2 separate regions of the Homo sapiens genome follow, and region 2 is linked to region 1. Evidence: promoter capture Hi-C in 16 types of primary human blood cells and fetal thymus (Javierre and others, 2016). All regions are on one chromosome and are shown on one strand. The core of a region is centred on a gene start or on the middle of the fragment in contact, and the rest is flanking DNA. Distances in the headings are between cores, read along the strand shown. Region 1 holds the start of MTAP (methylthioadenosine phosphorylase). Region 2 holds the start of RPS6 (ribosomal protein S6).

Evidence for each region. Contacts are between HindIII fragments. The CHiCAGO score rates a contact against its expected background, and 5 or more counts as called.
Region 2: a contact is called between the fragment with the promoter of RPS6 here and the fragment with the promoter of MTAP in region 1, in 1 of 17 cell types (M2 macrophages). The highest score is 5.8, in M2 macrophages.

The regions. Positions count from the first base shown.
Region 1 is chr9:21,800,037-21,807,548 of GRCh38, forward strand. MTAP (methylthioadenosine phosphorylase) reads left to right here and starts at 2,600. Exons shown (of 8, transcript NM_002451.4): 1 at 2,600-2,745. The coding sequence starts at 2,713. RefSeq lists enhancers at 1,479-2,109, 2,110-2,738, 3,233-3,442, 5,101-5,245, a silencer at 2,783-2,942 and a cis regulatory region at 5,173-5,174. The HindIII fragment of the contact is 2,099 bases long and covers 1,424-3,522 here.
Region 2 is chr9:19,377,208-19,384,719 of GRCh38, forward strand. RPS6 (ribosomal protein S6) reads right to left here and starts at 3,029. Exons shown (of 6, transcript NM_001010.3): 1 at 2,983-3,029; 2 at 2,280-2,411; 3 at 1,501-1,711; 4 at 1,161-1,307. The coding sequence starts at 2,988. It also overlaps the pseudogene NDUFA5P3. RefSeq lists an enhancer at 2,344-3,543. The HindIII fragment of the contact is 12,269 bases long and covers 1-7,512 here.

The DNA of each region.
Region 1 (7,512 bases), core at 1,350-3,849:
CCCATCCAGGACAGACATACTGGTCAGGGGCAGAAATATAACAATTCAGTGGGAAAGCTGATATGGTTGGCTGAGGTGATACATTTCATGCATTTGTGTGAATACTTCCTCCTGAAGATTTGATGATTCTGGAATGGTTTGGAGACGACTTCAAAAATAACATGTTTAGTAAAAGGGAACTGTAGGACACTGAAGAACCACTGCTCAAGACCCAACATAGTCAGCTACTGGTGATAACCATTTCAGTACTTTGTTGGCTAGGACCTAGAAGTTGGGAAGACATTTATGAGAGATTATCAAAAAGGGAGAAGCTGTTGGAATCCTTATACTGTTTCATAATCAGAATTGTTGTAAGGTGACCTAGTTCTTGATAATTATCTTTAGAAAAGCAAGGGTACAGGTTAACAGAGGGGGATTTATAGGATAAGAACAGAAGGGCAGGGCAAAATCTATGTTCACAAATAGACCGACTCTCCTTGTCTTGTTGACATAGTAATCAAAAAGGGAGACCACTGAAAATTTTTGCGTATTCAAAATTATTGAAAATTTTGTCTTCCTTTTATTTTAGGGCTTGTTAAGAAAAAACATGACCCAAAATTTGGAAATAAGGCAAAAATATTACTGCCTACCTTTTCAAAGATACTGCACTAAAGAAAGCACTGTCCCACAGGACTGCCCAAGGGTTATCCAAGTCTGGGTAGCAAGGGGTCGTCTGATTCAGGCACTACCCTGAGCGGAAAACAATGGCCCAAGACCTCGACCAAACCCAGCTCTCCACCTGTTTTTGTACAGCTTTGAACTGAGAATGCTTTTTTACAATCTTAAGTGGTTGAGAAAATATCAAAAGTAGAATAATATTTTGTCACATGTAAGTTTACATGAAATTCAAACTTTAGAAGAATTTCCTCTTCACAGACATCACATCTTCAAGAGCAAATGCTTGAGCCCTAACCTGCAAGTTATAGTAGAAAAGTCCAGAAGTCCAGCCTGGTCCTCGCCAAGTTTCCAACTCCTATGCCTAGGGGTATTTTATGCTTACAGGATCTAACTTGGTTACAACGTCTAACTTTTAGCAGAGAGGCAGTGCTGAGTAGAAACTGGACTTGTTAACCATATCAAGTCACTTAAGTTGGCTAGGATCCCCTACTTAGGTAGCGGCCATAAAGCCTAGGGCATCCCTGTGCCCTCAATGGTTCACTTCTGAGTGGTGGGCTTCCTGCTCCTCAATAGAGCAATCGGCAGAAAGGCCCCTAGAAAGCTACATTGTCTTCATCCGCGAAGGATTCCCTGTCTCCTATTCCTCAAAGGAGCACCCGGATTCTACTTTCATTCTTCTTTTGCCATTGCATTTTATAACTTAAAAGAAATAGATGATTGTAACAGAAGAAAGAAAACTTTACATTGTGAGAAAATTTAGACCTAAAGCTTATAGTAATGTGAGGACGAAAGTCTATACTGTTTAAGTAAATAGGTTCTATGAGCAGCATCCAGGCTAACATCACACAGTGGTATTTTGAATTAAATTGTACTTGTGTTTTGTTTCCGTGTTTTGCTGCTGTAAGGAAAGAGGAAAGCATCCCCTTTCTCGGCCCTCCTCCCACGTCCAGGCTAATTTGCAGCATTTCTACATCTCAGAGTCCACCCTTAAGATCCTTGCCACCCATTATTTTGTTTCAGAACGCTTAATCCATCAAGGAAGGTTAAATTGGATTACCCCAGTAGGGAAGGGACGGGGGCTGTAAGCATGAGGGATTATCCCTGTAAAGGGCTCGTGGTGTGTGTGTGTGTGCGTCCTGCTAGTGTTGAATGACGGAGACCTGAGTTTGGATTCTGAATCCAGGTGTATTCGATGCCGCTCCGGCGTAGAACGGGTTAAAGATGCCCCCAGCCAGGTAGAGCCAGACTGGGAGTTGTGCAAGGTCTCAACCCCCTAAAAGCGGCCCCTCAAATTGAAGATGAGTAAATCATAGTTCGTAAATCAGAAAGATTATCCAGTACTACGTTACTCTGTTTATTTCCCTTTCGTCATCCCTGAGTCTTGGGTCAAGTCCATCCCAGCTCTGTCCTCCAGGAATCAAGGGAAATACGCAAACCCGCGGTGGGTTCGCAGCCGCAGGAAGGACAAATCTTGCCCCCGCCGCGGCGGCCGCCCCGCGTTAGCTGCCTAAGAGAATCTCCGTGGCCGGCCAGTACCCGCCTTGGTGAGGATTCTCCCTCCCGCGAGAACTTCTGGAATGCCGCCGGGCCAGATTTTGCAGCTGAGGCCTCCGACGCCACTAATATTGGGCCAAGCAGGGAGTGCTGCTCTTCCTTATAAGGTTTTAGCGAAAGTTAAGTAAGCCAATTAAAGTGCAAAACACACAGTCTGGAACAATACAGCGCTCTATAAATGGTCTCCATTATTATCATTATCCGTTAGTTATAACTGGGGATAAAAAAAAAAAAAAAACGACAAAAACCTGGAGAACCGGAAAGGTCTGCAAAAGGGGCGGAACGCGGGAACTTCGATTTGGGGAAGGGGTGGCGGGGGAGATCCCACACAAGCAGCCAATCCAGCTGTCCCGGGGAGGAAGAGGAGGAGTCAAGGCCCGCCCCTGGTCTCCGCACTGCTCACTCCCGCGCAGTGAGGTTGGCACAGCCACCGCTCTGTGGCTCGCTTGGTTCCCTTAGTCCCGAGCGCTCGCCCACTGCAGATTCCTTTCCCGTGCAGACATGGCCTCTGGCACCACCACCACCGCCGTGAAGGTGAGATGAGCCCTCCCAGCCGCAGCGGTTCGCCCTGCCGGATGCCTTCTCGCCCCCGCGCCGGGGGACCGCGCCTCCGGGGGCCATGCGCCCGGCCCGTGCGTCCCTTGCCGCCGCGGGGAGGGACTGGGGCGCGGCACTCGGGACTCACTTGCCGCGCGAGGAGAGGGTACGCTTGCAAATGATCCCCCTGCCGCACCGCCAACACACACACACACACACACACACACACACACACACACACACACACACACACCACCTTTTGGCTTATCTGCACCCGCACCCTGTAGGGCGTAGGCACCCCTTTAGAGAGAGAGGTCGTGGATGGGAGAGGCTGCACCCATGCCACCACCATTCCTGAGAACCACTCTTCTTCCAAGAAAGACACCCGGCTGGAGTCAGGAGGTGTCCGGGCGCCTGCAGCTTCTGTGACCGTCTCCTGGTGCCTTGCGGGACTCCAGCTTCCGCTCTCTGACTCTGCTTGTTGCCTGCGGCCCACGTGGGAGAACTGCTTACTTGCTCTTTTGTATGCTTCCGGCTTCTTTTTCCTCCAAACGTAGGCCTTCTCCGCGCTGAAGTTTTCCCCAGCAGCGTAATACTGTAAGAATTCTGAGACTTTCTTCGAAAAGGAGTACAGGCGTCCGTTTTTAGGGCTGCACTGTTTGGAGGCCTCTGGCTTGAAACTGCTTTGTTTTGCAGCCTTGCAAGTTAGAGTTCAATTTCCTTGTGCCCTAGGCCCTGAGAGGCCTTGATACAAGGGGTCATTGTGCGGTGGGAAGCTTTGTGCTGAGGAGGGCACGAGTTCTGAGAGTAGCAGCTGGCTTCCCTGGGGTTTTAAACACTTCTCTCCTGGTTAGTATTCCGAGAGAGAATTACAGCACGTAAAGAAAAATTGATGATAAAACTTAAGACCTCTTCTAGGCAGTTTATTACTGGCTAAGAATGCGTTCTTGTTTGATTTTTAGAAATTTTTGGCCTATGGGATAGGAAGGTCTGCGATCTTCTCCAAAGCATCTCGATTCCCTACACTCGACTGCAGTTTTCCCGGGAGAAGGCGAATTTCTGCGGTCAGTGTGTAATCAGCCAGATTAGTTTATTACGCCCTTGCAGGTTTAAATGAGCCACTTAGAATGAGAGGAATGGTGAAGGGTGTTGCATCCAGACTTATATATGAAACTTATTTTGTCATTTTGAAAAGAATCTTGCATCCAGCAAATATTTATAGAAGGCCTCTCCCCTGCCTTCATTGTTTGGCGGAAACAAGGCAGAAATGGTTTTCATGAAACTCGTGTGAAGTATGTGACTTCTCTTAGGTGCTCATCTATAAACTGAGAATTTTACTGCAGAATTTGCTAGGAGGGCTAGAATTATATTGTCTATGTTGCACATGGTAGAAGCTTATTAAGTGGTAGTGCTTATAAGTGGGGGAACTGAGATTAATTTTGAATGATCTTTTCCCCAAAAATTATTAAGTTATTGTGTTAGGTATCATTAGGCCACAACTTTTCACCTTATCCTTGCAGGAATACACTTCAAGCGCCATTAAAAATGGAGAAATGGTGTTTAAAACAGTCTTACTTTAATCTGGTTAGCATTCTCCCTGCCACAGGGTTTCCCTTCAAATTAATGCAGTGCATTTAAGTGCAGAATGGGCAATGGGATTCTCAGAGACCTGATGTAAATATTGAATAGTGTGTATTTTTGGTCTTGGCAAGCTTCTGGATATAAAATTAAGAGGTACATATGGTGCTAGGACTGCCTGCTGATTTCTCTTTTAATTTAGAACAGATGACAGCTTTGCCGTAGAGATTCCATGATGCCAGCACCGTATTCCCCAGACTTCTAAGGCAACATTCTGTATAGAAGATGTGAGGTGCCAGTGTCCAGAGCAAAATAGGTTAATAAAAACCACATCCTATTCCCAAATTATAGAATGATGGGGCTGGAGTGTTCCTTCAAGACCATCCATATAGCCACACAAACCCGTTTTGCGGGTGTAAAGTTGAGGCCCAGAAAGGTCAGCTAAGTATCCAGAATTACACAGCTGGACCTAGATAATGACAGAATTGGGCCTAGAGCCTGGCATTCCACCAACTAGATGTGAGGCATTTCTGAAATCTGAAGTGTGGTCTCTGCCCTGTTTTCTTGTGACCTAATGCACAATTAAAATGAGCACTTGATAGAATGTCCATCTTGAAGAGGGAGGCAGAGGGTATGCAGAAAGCAGGCTGCCTCCAGTGCCCACTGCACACCACCCAGGTATAGGTATAGGAGGCACATGTGTGTCTGAACCCCATTGGTGTCACTGGCAGGTCCTTTGAGAGGTTGCTGGATTTAAATACAGTAACATGTAACACACTCAGCCCAGTTCCAGGTACTCCTTTAATGTCAGCCCAAGTACCTCTCTTCTTAAAATAGAGATATTAACGGGGTGGATCTTAAATTCATTCTCAATTTTAGAGGTGCAGTTAACTCATGCAAGTGAAAGATTCCACTGAGTTTTGGATTGGCAGTATATTTGGCATATCTTTCAAATCTAGCCATCTACTGGTGGAATCCTATTCAAAAATATTTATTGAATACCTGCTAGACAATGGGGATGCAGCTTTGAGTAAGCGAGGCCTTTATTTATTTTCTTCAAGTTTATATTCTAGTCAGGGTGGGAAACCAACTGACATGAAAGTGAAACAGCAGTAAGATTCCATTGGGTGAGGGGTGTCAGAAAAGACTCCTAGGGAGGTGGATTTTAAGCTGTGCAGTAGTCTGCCTCCAAAATCTGTATGTTGAAACCTAATCGCCAATGTGATGGTATTAGAAGATGGGGCCTTTGGGCGTGATTGGGGTCATAAAGGTGGAGCCCTCATGAATGGAAGCAGTGCCCTTACAAAAGAGGCCCCAGAGAGCTGCCTTATTCCCTCTACTAAGTGAGAGGACACCATCTATGAGCCAAAACGTGGGCCTTCCTCAGACACTGAATCTGCTGTGACCTTGAACTTGCTAAGCCTCCAGACTATGAGAAATTTCTGCTGTTTATAAGCCACCCAGTCCTAAGATATTTTGTTATAGCAGCCTGAATGGACTTAAGCTGATAGTGAAAATAGGGATAAAGGGTAAAGATCCAAGTGAAGACCTGAGGAGAGAGATGGGGGTAGGAGAGCGAAAACCAAGATGTCGCAGAAGTGAGCTCAGTGTGGTAGGAATGGAAATCACGGATGCACAGTGAGAATTGGGTGGATGCAGCTCATAAGGCCATCCTTGTAGACCGCGATCAAGAATTTTGATTTTAAATGTTTTGGAAACTGTTGAAGGGTTAAGAGTGGGAGGCAGCATTTGATTTACATTTTAAAATGATTACTCTGGCTGTTGTATACAGAATAGCCTGTGGGCAGGGGAAGAGCTAAGAGATCAGGCCAGAAGTCTTGGTGCTGGGGCTGAAGTCTAGGGTGGGAGCCATGGAGGTGGTGAGGAATAATCAGATTGGGGATAGAATTTGCAGGTAGAACACAGAGATGGATAAGATGTGGGGAGTGCAGGAAGAAGAACAGGATGATTTCTGCTTTTGACCTGGAAAACCAAAAAGATGATGATACTGGTGGATCATTTCAAAGTGGGCGATAAGGGGCCACGAGTGACTCCTTGGAGCCAAGGAGGGTGAGTGTAGGATTCCTTCCTCCCAGATACTGCTGGTTAGGGGGCCAGAGGCTGGGATGCTGAGGGGCCTCTTTGCTGTAGGAGCAGAGTGGGTGGCAGGTTGAGGGAGGGAGGAAGCCACCTGGAGTGAGAGTAATTCAAGCAATCTTTTTTGTGGTTCACTGCAGTGAGAGATGGTCCAGGCAGGGAGTGAGGATATTACCTGGGGGGTAGCCATGGAGAGAGGCAGCAGGAGCCAGAGGCTATGGGATTAACACTGCCATTGTCTGAGAGGACCTCAGGGAGACATTGTCCTCCAGCATCAGCCAAGGGCAGGTGGTATTCCTGACAGAGGGCCAAACCAGTCTTTGGCACCCAGATACAGGGCATTCTGGAGGGCTCCTGCAGTGTACCATGGCTCCCCTGGGCAGCCTCCCAGCTTTCATTCTGGGAGATTAAAAATAAGACTTGGCCAGGCGCGGTGGCTCATGCCTGTAATCCCAACACTTTGGGAGGCCCAGCTGGGCAGATTACCTGAGCTCAGAAGTTCAAGACCAGCCTGGGCAACATGGTGAAACCCCATTTCTACAAAAAATACAAAAATTAGCCAGGCACGGTGCTGCACGCATGTAATCCCAGCTACTCAGGAGGCCAAGGTGGGCGAATCTCTTGAGCCCAGGAGGCAGAGGTTGCAGTGAGCAGAGACTGCGCCATTGCACTCCAGCCTGGGCGACAGAGTAAGATCCTGTCTCAAAATAATAATAATAATAACAACAACTTGTTAATCATGGTTGCTGTGACAAGGAGGGGATATGGTCCCATTGTAGGTTGGTAGTGAGCTATCAACATAATGATATTAAGGGAGATGGACAAGTCATGGTTTGTAGACTGTGGAATATGGGCCTTTACACTCCCTGCTTTGCTGTCTTGAGTGTGGCCTGCAAGGGCCTTCAGCCTGAGAGTCCTTGTGTGGCTATCTGAAACTGAGGACAACCTGCAGGCCCCAGTTGAAAATCACATGACCAACAAGCCTTCATTTTTTTTGCCTAGGGACACAAGGGCATTTTGGGCAGGACAATTATTTCTTTTGTAGGACTGTCCCAAGCATTGCAGGACATGGAGTACAACCCTTAACCT
Region 2 (7,512 bases), core at 1,779-4,278, 2.4 Mb before region 1:
ACACTTTGTAGGAGTTAACTGCCTTAGGCTAAATGCTCAGATGTTCAGATTCTGCTAAAATGTTAAGCCTCCTACTATAGACATAAGAACCATCTAAAAATACCCATCAACCAGACCACGCTTGTATTATACGGATTATTTCCAGGGCTATGATTATGGGCAACTGCCACCTATTTGTCAATTGCTTTTTTTTTTTTTTTTGCAACATCAGCTTCATAAGGGTAGGAATTTGTCTATACTGTATTCTCAGCACCTTGAACAGTACCTGTGCTCAAGTAAGTGTAATTACTGACTTAACAGACGTATACTATCTATGCCATGTATGTTAAGTCACACCAGTCCTGAAAACCAAAATCCAGAGAAATTCTTTCAAATTTTGTCAGGAAAACCCAACCTTGACTGACATGCTGTTTATTTAACATAAATATCCCCAAATTTCACCACAGAAATATTGCTATTTGAGGTCCTCACTGGTGAGTATGTTGTCTACTATATGGACAAAAGTTCTTAAAAGGTAAAGCTCCAAAATCCCTAACACCTGCTCCCTAGTATTCTGAGTAAGGTCTCTAACTTCTAATTCTCACAACTCTTAACTATTGTTATCCATATCCTACAGATGAAACAGAAGTTTAAAGCAACTTCTTTTGTAAGCCAAAAAATAATTTTGGGCTGGGTGTGGTGGCTCACGCCCATAATCCCAGCACTTTGGGAAGCCAAAGTGGGAGCATCACTTGAGCTCAAGGGTTCAAGACCAGCCTGGGCAACAGTGTGACCTCATCTCTTAAAAAATATTAATAATTTAGAACATCTGATATAAAATTACAAAGTGTGTGGTGCTAATAGTCCCAGAATTCTCAAACATGTGACTCCTAAACCAGATAGCAATGACCTTAAAGTCAGGTTATTTTTGGATAATGTATACATCAAAGATTCACAAGCAGATTTTCAACGAAATTACTGCACTCTACAAGGCACTGGATATAATAAGCAAGGATTAACACCAACTGGGTATGCTGGCCACCCCCAAATATTTTCTGTAAAAACTCCAAGTGAATAGTGCTAAGGCCTTCCAAAGGCACATATTTATCTTCTGATATGCACACAAAATGATAGACAAATTACCAAAATTAAGCAAGCCCTAATTGCATAATCCCTCCTACCTTCTTTATTTAAGGGCTTTCTTACAACATACTGGCGGACATCATCTTCTTTAGAGAGATTGAAAAGTTTGCGGATTCTGCTAGCTCTTTTGGGGCCCAGGCGGCGAGGCACTGTAGTATCAGTCAGTCCAGGAATATCCTTCTCTCCTTAGAAGAAACAGTTGAAGAGATTTTAATTCAACAACTTCCTTAAGAATCCTAAATCAGAATGTTTAATGTTGAATTGATGGTAGAGAAACAAATCCATTGGTCTGTAAGTCTGGATACTGCAAATGAATAAGCATTTGGACAACTGGCTTTAAATCAATTTCAACGAAAATTGAACACAAGTAACCCTCACCTTTTTTTACAATAACCAAGTTGAGAACGCTCAGATTTGCATCCACAATGCAACCACGAACTGATTTTCTCTTTCTTTCTCCAGTTCTCCTTGGTCTGTAACAGGAATGCCCCTTACTCAGTAGCAGGCGGACACGGCCATGGGTCAAGACACCCTGCTTCATGGGGAAACCTTGTTTGTCGTTCCCACCACTGATTCGGACCACATAACCCTGCAAGAGCATACAATGAATGACACATTTACTATTTCTATTCCAAAATTATACAGTACAGGATTGTGACCTCTGTGAACACACCTATATGAGAAAGTATAATTATGAAAACCAATTTGAACTTAAGCACGTTTTCTCTGTTCAGTGAGTTTTGTCTATATTCCCAACTTGTCAAGTTCAATTATCAAATGTCTTTCAAGTCGCATTTCTAACCGATGTTTTATTAGAGATAACAGCACTAAGAAGATAAAATATCAAACAGCAACAAACAAATCAGATACAACCCTTTTTGGCACTTTGGGGATTATGAGGACAGCTATGTGACATATTGCCAAATGCATGATGCAGGGCAAGAATTATGTTGATGTAAACTTTACGTATATTTTATGGCTTACTCTACGTCCCCCCCTCCAAGGTAATACCTCTAACTTTATAAAGTGGCATTCGGAAGCAACTTACCAAAGGTCAGAAGCCAGAACCCGGAGTCTGAACCCCATTCCAAATACCAGTTACCAATGGCGTTTACCGTCTCTGACTTAAATACCTGCAACAATTTGTCAACTTTTACCTTCCATTCTTCACCCAGAGCGTCAGCAGCAACTTCTGTGGCCATACGCTTCTCATAGAAAGTACGAAGTTTGCGTTCATCGTCCACTTCAATGAGTTTCTGGCAGCCAGTGGCTGGGAAGGAGATGTTCAGCTAAGGATTAAAAGGGGGGAAATAGTTTACGAAACTATCTATACAGGTAATTGTAGAGCCATCTACAAAGTTAATTCCACTGCAAAAAGCCTTTCATGTTGCCTCCACACAAGCAGGAAATATAAGATGCCGACTGTACTCACTAAAAGCACGTGAAAGCAGAGTAGCAGTCAAGAAGCGCCGCACTCAGCAGGACGTTTTCCCCTCAAGCCCCGCGGAATGACTCTGGGGGCGAGGGCACTCCGCAGCCGTTCACCCTCCCGAAGCAAGAAAGCCGGGGTCAAGAGCCGCACCACAGGCCTGCCGCAAACTGGGCAACACGCCGCATCCGTCCCGGCTGGGCGCGGGGACGCCACCATGGCGCTCCCGGCCCGCCGCGGCTCCAGCCGCAATCGCCTGCCATCCGTTCGGCCAAAAAGCTCCATGCCCCAGAAAGGCGAGCCTTCTCCTACTTGAGACCCTTCTCCACCTAAAGCCAGGATCCTGGAGTGCTGGAACTGAGGCAATGCCGCGTTCTGGGACTCGATTCACGTTCCCCAAACCCAGTCTAACACTCGCCACCATCACCTACCTTCATCTTGAAGCAGCTGAACGCCTCCGAGGCGCCACGGAAAAGAGGGCCAACTTCCGCTTAGCGCAGGTCACATAGGCGCTTTCAGTTCTCGCGAGATGAGCAGAAGTACGGGATAGCGGAAGTGAGCATGGGTGGGCGGTACTTCCGGGCGAGATTAATCAGGGCCTGGGAGGTAAAGTCGGTTGGGTGTGGGTCTGAGGTTGTGCCAGTGGTGGTAGTCTGGTAAGGCAAACCCGCGTGTAATTCTGAGGGCTAACCCCTTCCCTGTCTAGTCTTTTCCACGCTGCCTGGGTTTTGGAGCTGGGCGCCAGCGGAGCCCCACTTCTGTCCCAGGCACTTTGCATCTGACGGTACCAAAATAGGAGGGCAAGGCCGGGCGCGGTGGCTCACGCCTGTAATCCCAGCACTTTGGGAGGCCGAGGCGGGCGGATCATCTTAGGTCAGGAGTTCGAGACCAGCCTGGCCAACATGGCGAAACTCCGTCTCTAATAAAAATAGGTAAAATAGCCAAAAATAGGTAAAATAGCCAGGCGTGGTGGGGGGCGACTGTAGTCCCAGTTACTAGGGAGGCTGAGGCACGACAATCGCTTGAGCCCAAGAGGCGGAGGTTGCAATGAGTCCAGATCGCACCACTGCACTGCAGCCCAGGCGACAGAGAGAGACTCCGCCTCAAAAAAGTTCGAGTTCGAGACCAAGTAAACAAGAATAATTTTTACTATCTAAAACTATCACATACCATCTCCCCACTTTAGTGTCACAAAGGTTTGAGTTTAGGACTGTTTTACATTCGAAGTTGAACGATTCTACTGAATCCTCTTTGATCATCTCACATTAATTCATGGAATCTTGGTGAAATGATGCTTTTTAAAATCTGAGTACTGTGTGTCATTTTTTTGTTGAGGTGAAATTGACATAACTAGTCATTTTAAAGTGAACAATTCAGTGGCATTTAGTACATTCACAATGCTGTACAACCACCATCTCTATCGATACAGTTCCAAAACATTTTCATCATCCTAAAAGAAAACCCTGTACCCTGTTAAAGCAGTTGCTGCCCCTTCCCCATTTCGACCAGGCCTGGCAACCACCAATCTGTGTTCTGTCTCAGTGGATGTACCTACTTCATAAAAATGGAATCATACAATATTGACCTTTTGTATCTGTCTTCTAATCTTTTGAGTCGTAGCATGTATCAGTACTTCACTGCTTTTATGGCTCAATATTCTAGTGTAGATATAGACTGCAGTTTGTTTATCCATTCCTCCATAAATAGACATTTGGGTTGTTTCTGCCTTTTAACTACTGTAAATAGTTCTTCTATGTTTGAGTACTTGTTTTAAATTATTTTAGGTATATACCTAAGAGTGAAATTGCTGGGTCATATAGTAGTTCTATTCTCAACTCAGGGAGAAACTGAAACTGTATTCCAAAGCAGCTGAACCATTTTACATTCCCACCGGCAATGTATGAGGACCGCACTTTATCAAAATCATGGCCAACACTTGTTATTTTTTTAATTTTTTAAAAATTTATTGTAGGGACAGGGTCTCGCTTTGTTGCTCAAAGTGAGATCCTGTTGGTCTGGAACTCTTGGCCTCCAGCATCCTCCTGTCTCAGCCTCTGGAGTAGCTGAGACTCATTGTGGTTTTGATTTGCATTTCCCTAATGACTAATGATGTTGAGCATGTTTTAATGTGTTTGTTGGCCATTTGTATATCTTCTTTAGAGAAAAGTCTGTACAAGCTCTTAGCTCCCCCTGTTATTTTTATTGAAGTAGTGGGAGTAAATTAATGTGAGGCAAAGAGAAAGTCTAGAACTATGGGCTAGTTTTTTTTGTTTGTTTTTCCTTTTAAAAATATTTTAGGGTGGCCAAATGCAGTGGCTCACACCAGTAATCCAGACGCTTTAGGACGCTGAGATGGGAGGATCTCTTGAGGCCAGGAGTTTGAGATCAGCCTGGGCAAACATAGTGTCACCCTGTCTCATTTAAAAAAAAATTTTAATGCGTTTTTAATTGTGGGTAAAAAACATATAACACAAAATGTATCATCTTAACCATTTTGAAGTGTACACTTCTGTAATGTTAAATATATTAACATTGTTGTAAAATAGATCTCCAGAACTTTTTCATCTTGCGAAATGGGAACTTCATACTCATTAAACAACTCCTTTCCCCCTACCCACGGCTTTTGGTAACCATTCTACTTTCTGTCTCTATGATTTTCACTAAGCATCTCATATAAATGGAATCAAACAGTAGTAGTTGTCTTTTTGTGACTGGCTTATGTCATTTAACATAATGTTCTCAAGGTTCATCCATGTTATAGCATGTGACAGGATTTCCTTCTCTTTTAAGGCTGAATAATACTCTGTTGCATGTATATACTACATTTTGTTTAACCATTCGTCTGTCAATGGACATTTTGGTTGTTTCCACCTCTTGGCTGTTGTAAATAATGCTGATATGAACATGGGTGTGCAAATATCTCTTAGAGACAGACCCTGTTTTCAATTCTTTTGGCTATCTATCCAGAAGTGGGACTGCTGGATCACGTTAGTTCTATTTTGAATTTTTTGAGGAACCTCTATACTGTTTTACATATGGCTGTACCAATTTACAGTCCCACCAACAGTACACAAGGGTTCTTTGCCTTTTTTTTTTTTTTTTTTTTTTGAGATGGAGTCTTGCTCTGTCGCCCAGGCTGGAGTGCAATGGCACGATCTCGGCTCGCTGCAACCTCTGCCTCCCGGGTTCAAGCGATTCTCCCGCCACAGCCTCCTGAGTAGCTGGGATTACAGGTGCGTGCCACCATGCCTGGCTAATTTTTGTATTTTTAGTAGAGATGGGGTTTCACCATGTTGGCCAGGATGGTCTCAAACTCCTGACCTCAAATGATCCTTCTGCCTTGCCTCCCAAAGTGCTGGGATTACAGGTGTGAGCCACTGCACCTGGCCCACACTCTTAATATAACAGAATATTTAATTACATCAGTTTCCCATCAACCTACCAAAGTCATTTAATAATTATATTGGCCATTTCCACTGATTGGCAGGAGTCTCTCCCATGGTTTCCACTGCATCATTTTTCTTGCCAGACTTAGTTCATTTTTAGCCTGCAGAATCGCCTCTTCTATTTGACCACCTTGAAGTTGGTCTTCTGATTTTTTATTTTTATTTAATTAATTAATTAATTAATTTTTGAGACAGAGTCTCACTCTGTTGCCCAGGCTGAAGTGCAGTAGCATGATCTCGGCTCACTGCAACCTCCACCTCCTGGGTTCAAGCGATTCTCCTGCCTCAGCCTCCCAAGTAGCCAGGACTACAGGCATGCACCACCATGCCCGGCTAATTTTTGTATTTTTAGTAGAGACAGGGTTTCGGCATGTTGGCCAGGCTGGTCTCAAACTCCTGACCTCAGGTGATCCGCCTGCCTTGGCCTCCCAATGTGCTGGGATTACAGGAGTGAGCCACTGCGCCCGGCTGGTCTTCTAATTTTTTAACATCTGGTTCTGCTTTAACCATAGCCAGTGTCTCATTTGTAATCTGTTCTGTATACTTTCTATATGCTACATTTTTAGGGATTTGCTCAAGAACATAAAAAAATCTTTGTATACAATATTCTTAGCCTCTCCTGTGGACTCTCGCATACAGCCAATCCCACAAGGCCAGTGGTCTCTCTTCAGCACACCCGTCATGACTCTGGCTAATTGAGAAAAAAAAAAAAAGATTTGTGTGTGTGTGTGTGTGTGTGTGTGTGTGTGTGTGTGTGCGTGCGCGTGTGTGTGTAGAGATAAGGGCTCCATATGTTGCCCAGGCTGGTCTTGAATTCCTGGCCTTGAGTGATCCTCCTGCCTCAGCCTCCCAAAGCATTTGTCCATTTTAAAATCGGGTTTTTTAATATATATTCAGGAGACTAAACTCTTATTAGATACGTGATGTGCAAATATTTTCTCCCATTCTGTAGACTTTTCGCTTTCTTAATAATGTTACAGTTTTTAATTTTAAAGCCCAATTTATATAATTTAAAAATTGTTGTAGATCATGCTTTTGGTTTCATTTAAAAATACGTTGCCAAATCCAGTGTCATAAAGTTTACCCCTATGTTTTAAAATCTAATCTTAAAGACTTACCCTATGTTATGGTCTTAGTTTTTATATTTAGGTTATTGATCCGTTTTGAGTTTATTCTTAAATAATTGTGTGAGGTTGGGACTCCAGCTTAATTATTTTGCAGATAGATGTCCAGTTGTTCCAGCACTATTTGTTGAAGAGACTATTCATCCCTCATCGAATGGTCTTGACACTCTTGTTGAAAATTAATTGCCATAAATTTATAGGTTTATTTCTGGACTGTCACTTCTATTTCCATGGTCCATGTGCCTATCCTTATGCCAGTGCTATAGCTTTGTAGCAAGCATCAAAATAAGGAAGTAAGAGTACTCCAACTTTGTTTTTTTTCAAGATGGGTTTAGTTCTTAAGGATCCTTTTCAATTGCACATGAATTTTAGCATCAGCTTGTTCATTTAT